Linked DNA regions of Homo sapiens: region 2 is linked to region 1. The links are contacts of gene promoters, found by promoter capture Hi-C in blood cells and fetal thymus (Javierre and others, 2016). All regions are on one chromosome and are shown on one strand. Each heading gives the region's core, a stretch centred on a gene start or on the middle of the fragment in contact. The rest is flanking DNA. Distances are from core to core; before and after follow the strand shown.

What was found. The method cuts DNA at HindIII sites, captures the fragments that hold promoters and counts their contacts. A CHiCAGO score of 5 or more calls a contact.
Region 2: a contact is called between a fragment that was not itself captured here and the fragment with the promoter of DNAJC8 in region 1, in 1 of 17 cell types (endothelial precursors). The highest score is 6.1, in endothelial precursors.

Annotation. Positions count from the first base shown.
Region 1 is chr1:28,231,400-28,234,653 of GRCh38, reverse strand. It overlaps DNAJC8 (DnaJ heat shock protein family (Hsp40) member C8), which reads left to right and starts at 1,625. Exons shown (of 9, transcript NM_014280.3): 1 at 1,625-1,733. The coding sequence starts at 1,656. RefSeq lists an enhancer at 1,402-1,935. The HindIII fragment of the contact is 12,029 bases long and covers 42-3,254 here.
Region 2 is chr1:28,101,591-28,104,997 of GRCh38, reverse strand. No RefSeq gene overlaps it. Among named protein-coding and RNA genes, the nearest start is that of EYA3, 15 kb to the right of the region's middle. The HindIII fragment of the contact is 3,238 bases long and covers 96-3,333 here.

The DNA.
Region 1 (3,254 bases), core at 376-2,875:
AAAAAAAAAAAAAAAGGATAAGTAGGAGTCTAGGGAAAGCTTGACCTTAACCTCCCTTCATCCATCTAATGAATGTGAACAAGACAACAGTAGTCTTTACTCTCATGAAGTTTATAGCTCTTCTCTAACTCATTTTCTCTTCTCTGTTTCTTCTTTTTTAGATGAGAGAATTGGGCCAGATTATCTACCTGATTGATGATTATAAAAATACCTTCTTTGGGGCTGGGCGTGGTGTCTCACACCTGTAATCCCAGCACTTCGGGAGGCCGAGGCGCATGGATCATGAGGTCAGGAGTTCGAGATCAGCCTGACTAACTCCGTCTCTACTAAAAATACAAAAATCAGCCGGGCGTGGTGACATGCGCCTGTAATCTCAGCTACTCAGGAGGTTGAGGCAGGAGAATTGCTTGAACCTGGGAGGCGGCGGTTGCAGTGAGCCAAGATCATGCCACTGCACTCCAGCCTGGGCAACAGAGCAAGCCTCTGCCTCAAAAAAACAAAACAAAACAAAACCTTCTTTGTTTTCTATGAAATAGTAAAACTGGCTTTATTGATTATATTTTAGTTGAGAAAATAGCAGCCCTACCTGGTATTTTGTTTAATTCCATTTATGTGAAATACGTATTCACATATTGTTTAACTCCATTTATGTGAAATATCCAGAATAGGTAAATCCATATAGATAGAACACAGATTGCTTGTTTTCAGGGACTGGGGAGAGGGGGCGAATAGGGAGTAACTGCTTAATAGGTACTAGGTCTCCTCGGCCAGGCGCGGTGGCTCACGCCTGTAATCCCCGCACTTTGGGAGGCCAAGGCGAGCGGATTACGACGTCAGGAGATCGTAGACCATCCTGGCCAACATGGTGAACATCCGGCTTTACTAAAAATATAAAAATTAGCGGGGCATGGTGGCGTTTGTCTGTAATCTCAGCTACTCGGGAGGCTAAGGCAGAATTTCTGGAACCGGGGAGGCGCCACTGCACTCCAGCCTGGGTGACAGAGTGAGACTCCGTCTAAAAAAAAAAAGTAGATACTAAGTCTCCTTTTGAGGTGATGAAACTATTTTGGAACCAGGTAGACATGGTGGTTGCAGAACATTGTGAATGTTCTGAAGACAGCTGAGCCGGTCCGGCGCGGTGGCTCATGCCTGTAATTCCTGTACTTTGGGAGGCCTGGGCAACATGGCAAGACCCCGTCTCCACAAAAGTACATAAAATTAGCCGGGCATGGTGGCGCGCGCCTGCAGTCCCAGCTACTCGGGAGGCTGAAGTGAGAGGATCGCTTGAGCTTGGGAGGTCGAGGCTGCAGTGAGCTGTGATTGCACCACTCGACTCCAGCCTGGACGACAGAGATCCTGTCTCAAAAATAAATAAATAAATAAACCCACTGAATTATTCACTTTTTCTTTTATTCTTCTTATTATTTTTTACCTAACAATAACTTAAGCACATTATTTACTTTAAAGTGGTTAATTATATGTTATGTGTAATTCGTTTAAATTTTAAAAAGCCCACCTACTTTTAAAGTGCCTGGCTGGGCTGCGAGCCCTTTAAGAACCTCTCAGACGGGAGGCGGGGCTAGAGGAGCGGACCTGTAAGAATCACGTGAGGCGACGCCTGCGCAGAAGGGTCACGTGGTGGCTGGGCCGGGGAAATGGCGGCTTCAGGAGAGAGCGGGACTTCAGGCGGCGGAGGCAGCACCGAGGAAGCATTTATGACCTTCTACAGTGAGGTGAACACAGAGTGAGGAGTAGTGGCACCGGGGCGACCGCTCCCGGATCTGCTTTCCCAGTGGACAAAGGCAGTGGCCGCCTGGCCTGGACCGTTGGGCGATTCCTTCAGTCCAGTCTTCGGGGTGGCGGGGGTCTGGGGGTGTGTGAGCGTCTCCCACTGATAGCTGCTGGGAGATCCCCCGGGGCAACGAAAGAGGGAATGGTGTTCGATCTATCGAGGGAGGTGGCGAGTGTGTCCAACATAGTGCGGGCGCGCGGGCAGAGTGCCCCAAGTCCGCGGAGTCGGGGGCTGGCAGAGGCTGGGCCCTTCCTGGGAGTGACTTAGCCTTCTTGGCCCCCGAGACGTTTCTTAGTCCTTTGTAATGAGTTGTTTTAGTGGTTGTTTCTGCCATTCACGAACGCCAGGCACTGTGTATCATGCCAGTTAGGCATTATATTACCCCCATTTTACAGATGACGAACCTGAGCTTTAGGGAGGTGAAATAGTTTGGGGCCTTACAGTAGGTTACAGCTTGCTTGGTGGTATGTTAGGACAGCAGTGGGCTTGTTCTGAGCCTCCTTTACTATCGCATCTCCAGCGCATAGTATGTAGTGGATGCTCAGTAAATATTTGTTGAGTGAATGAATGAATAAATGAAATAAAAGCATGCCGTTTGGAGTCAGAATCTCAGATTAAATTATTGCAAGGGGCTGGGCACAGTGGCTCACATCTGTAATCCCAGCACTTTGGGAGGCCCAGGCGGGAGGAACCCAAAAGCTCGAGGCTGCAGTGACCTATGATCGGACCACTGCACTCCATTTTTGGCGAGAGTGAGACCCTGTCTCTTTAAAAAGAAGGAAAAAAAGGATAGAAAAAAAAATTCTTGGTTGGGCGCGGTGGCTCACGCCTGTAATCCCAGCACTTTGGGAGGCCGAGACGGGCGGATCACGAGGTCAGGAGATCGAGACCACGGTGAAACCCCGTCTCTACTAGAAATACAAAAAATTAGCTGGGCCTGGTAGTGGGCGCCTGTAGTCCCAGCCACTCGGGAGGCTGAGGCAGGAGAATGGCGTGAACCCGGGAGGCAGAGCTTGCAGTGAGCAGAGATCGCGCCACTGCACTCCAGCTTGGGTGACAGAGCGAGAGACTGTCTAAAAAAGAAAAAAATTCTTGGAAGACAGTTAACCTGACTGGACTGGGATTGAATTCTTTTTTTTTTTCCTAAGGCGGAGTTTTGCTCTTGTTGCCCAGGCCTGGAGTGCAGTGGCACGATCTTGGCCCACTGCAACCTCTGCCTCCCTGGTTCAAGTGATTCTCTCGCCTCAGCCTCCCGAGTAGCTGGGATTACAGGCGCCTGCCACCACGCCTGGCTAATTTTTGTATTTTTGGTAGAGACGGGGGTTTCACCATGTTGGCCAGACTGGTCTTGATCTCCTGACTTAAGGTCCTCCCGCCTCGGCCTCCCAAAGTTGCTGGGATTACAGGCTTGAGCCACCACGCCTGGCCGGGATTGAATTTGTTCAAGACATTAATTTTGCAG
Region 2 (3,407 bases), core at 465-2,964, 130 kb after region 1:
CATATGAAGGACTAACACAGTGCCTCGGATGCTGCATGCTAGTAAATAGCAGCCAGATTATTGCCAGATTCCTATTCAGGGGAGCCGGAGAAGCTTTTTCTACTTTCCGCTTCCTTCTCCTCCCATTGCCTTCTTTGGTAGGGAAGTGGAATTGTATTCCAGAGGCAGAGTACATGTAATGCCTCTCTCACCTTTCATTCTTTTCACCTCTGAATGATTTTTATTAGTTTTGTAGCTCACAGCCCATTTCACAAAGTTGTAATTTGCCTCTTGCCTGGAGAATATTAAACTGTTACATAAAAGCAATAGTTTTTTTATGCTAGGAATTTTCACTATGCCGATTTTCTATGTCTTTTATAGATAAGACATTGGATCAGCCATGGTTCATTGATTGAAAACATCAGTGACCAATTCTGGTCTTAATAACAACAACAACAAAAATATTTTATTGGAAAGATATGGGATAGCTTACCGAAGGAAAGCTGAACGTCAAGCCTCAGAAAAAGCATACAGGGTAGCTCCAGGGATCTAGGTAGCAGGAAGTTTTGTTTGTTTGTTTGTTTTGTTTTGAAACAGGGTCTCACTCTGTCGCCCAGGCTGGAAGTGCAGTGGTGCAATCACGACTCACTGCAGCCTCAACCTCCTAGGTTCAGGTGGTCCTCCTGCCTCAGCCTCCTGAGTAGCTGGGACCACAGGTGCCACCATGTCTAGCTAATTTTTTTCTTTTGTATTATTTGTAGAGACAGGGTTTCGCTATGTTGCCCAGGCTGGTCTCGAACTCCTAGGCTCAAGCAATCCTCCAGCCTTGGCCTCCAAAAATACTGGGATTAGAGGGGTGAGCCACCATACCCTGCCTCATAATATCTTCTAATTGCTAGTTCATTTTCAAATTTCCTCAATTGATAAAAGAATTTTTTTTTTTTGAGACAGAGTCTCGCTCTGTCGCCCAGGCTAGAGTGCAGTGGCGCAATCTTGGCTCACTGCAACCTCTGCCTCCTGGGTTTAAGCGATTCTCCTGCCTCAGCTGCCTGAGTAGCTGGGATTACAGGCATGCGCCACCACGCCTGGCTAATTTTTGTATTTTTAGTAGAGATAGGGTTTCACCATGTTGGTCAGGCTGGTCTCGAACTCCTGACCTCGTTATCCACCCGCCTCAGCATCCCAAAGTGCTGGGATTACAGGCGTGAACCATCATACCCGGCCTAAGAATGTATTTTGTAGACTTTTTCCCAAATCAAGATTGTATCAAAGTTCACTCATTGCAATTTGTTATTGGGTCTCTTTACTCTCTTTTAGTCTAAATCCCCTCCATTTGTGGATTTTTCATGATATTGACATTTTGAAGAGTTTAGGCTAGCTGTCATGTAAAAAATTTTTACATTTTTTTGGTATAGTATTTTTTATTGTGGTAAAATATGCATAAGATTACAGTTTTAACTATTTTAAAGTGTACAAATCAATGGCATTAAGTACATTTACAATGTTGTACAACCATCACCACTATCAATTTCTGGAACTTTTTTTTTTTTTTTTTGAGATGGAGTCTTGCTCTGTCGCCAGGCTGGAGTGCAGTGGTGTGATCTCGGCTCACTGCAACCTCCACCTCCCGGGTTCAAGCGATTCTCCTGCCTCAGCCTCCTGAGTAGCTGGGACTACAGGCACGCGCCACCACACAGCTAATTTTTGTATTTTTAGTAGAGACAGGGTTTCATCATATTGGCTAGGATGGTCTCAGTCTCTTGACTTCGTGATCTGTCTGCCTCGGCCTCCCAAAATGTTGGGATTACAGATGTGAGCCACCACGCCCGGCCAATTTCTGGAACTTTTTTTTATCATCACGAACTAAAACTCTGTACCACTAAACAATAACCCTCCATTACTCCCTACCTCTAGCTTCTGGGAACCTTTATTGTACCGTCTGTATCTATGAATTTGCCTATTTTAGGTACCTCGTGTAAGTGGAATCATGTAATATATGTCCCTTTGTATTTGGCTTATTTCATTTAGCATAATGAATGTTTTCAAGTTTCAGCCGTGTTGTAGCATGTATCAGACTTTCATTCTCTGCATTGCTTTTTTTTTTTTTTTTTTGAGACAGAGTCTCCATCTGCTGCCCAGGCTGGAGCGCAATGGTGTGATCTTGGCTCACTGCAACCTCCACCTCCCAGGTTCAAGCCATTCTCCTGCCTCAGCCTCCCAAGTAGCTGGGACTACAGGCATGCGCCACCACGCCCAGCTAATTTTTGTATTTTAATAGAGATGGGGTTTCACCGTGTTGGCCAGGCTAGTCTTGAATGCCTGACCTCAAGTGATCCACCTGCCTTGGCCTCCCAAAGTGCTGGGATTACAGGTGTGAGCCACTGCACCCGGCCTGCATTGCTCTTTAAAGTTAATTTATTTGAGTCTTATATTTATTTTCTTATAACTTTTTAAACTTTTTTTTTAACATGAAGGAATGCATTTAGATGTATTCCCAAATTTAAGAAAATCTGTCTAGACTTTTACGCTGGCCAAGCTAATTAGATTTAGATTAGTGAGCTCATAGTGAGTGGGTTAATTTATCACCAGGTTGCAGTAAAATTAACCTTCCAAAACAAACATAGTTTATAGCTTTGAATGAATAACCACCATTTCCTATACTAAACATTCTTTTAAAAATGTAGTTTGCTGTAATAAAAATTAATAGCCTCAGGATTACAAGTAAATACTCCCTGGGATTATTAAAACAAGCATTTCAATAGTATAGAAAAGCTCTTTGTCTTTTTAATTAAAAGACTTAGTCTATTTTTATGATGACATAGTTCAGAATTCTTTTAGATGTATCTTAAATTTTATGGTAACTCTTATGTAGAAATTCACTAACCCTCGGCCTTGTCTTTTTATTTTTTTTTTGAGAAGGAGTCTTGCTCTGTTGCCCAGACTGGAGTCCAGTGGCGCGATCTCGGCTTACTGCAAGCTCCACCTCCCGGGTTCACACCATTCTCCTGCCTCGGCCTCCCGAGTAGCTGGGACTACAGGCGCCTGCCACCACGCCCGGCTAATTTTTTGTATTTTTAGTAGAGACGGGGTTTCACCGTGTTAGCCAGGATGGTCTCGATCTCCTGACCTCGTGATCTGCCCGCCTCGGCCTCCCAAAGTGCTGGGATTACAGGCATGAGCCACCGTGCCCGGCCTTACCCTCAGCCTTGTCTTTCTAAACAAAGCAGGCTGGATAATTTAGTGCTTGGCATTCTCTAAAGCACTTAGGTGAATAGCATCTCAAGTTTCTTGATAAAGATCAGGACTTTGAGGTTTATTATAATTTTTTTCTACATCTCTATACTCATGAAAGCTTCATAGTATAGATTTTTTGTTGTAGTTATTGTTGAGACGGAGTTTCGCTCTTGTCGCCCAGGCTGGAGGGCAAT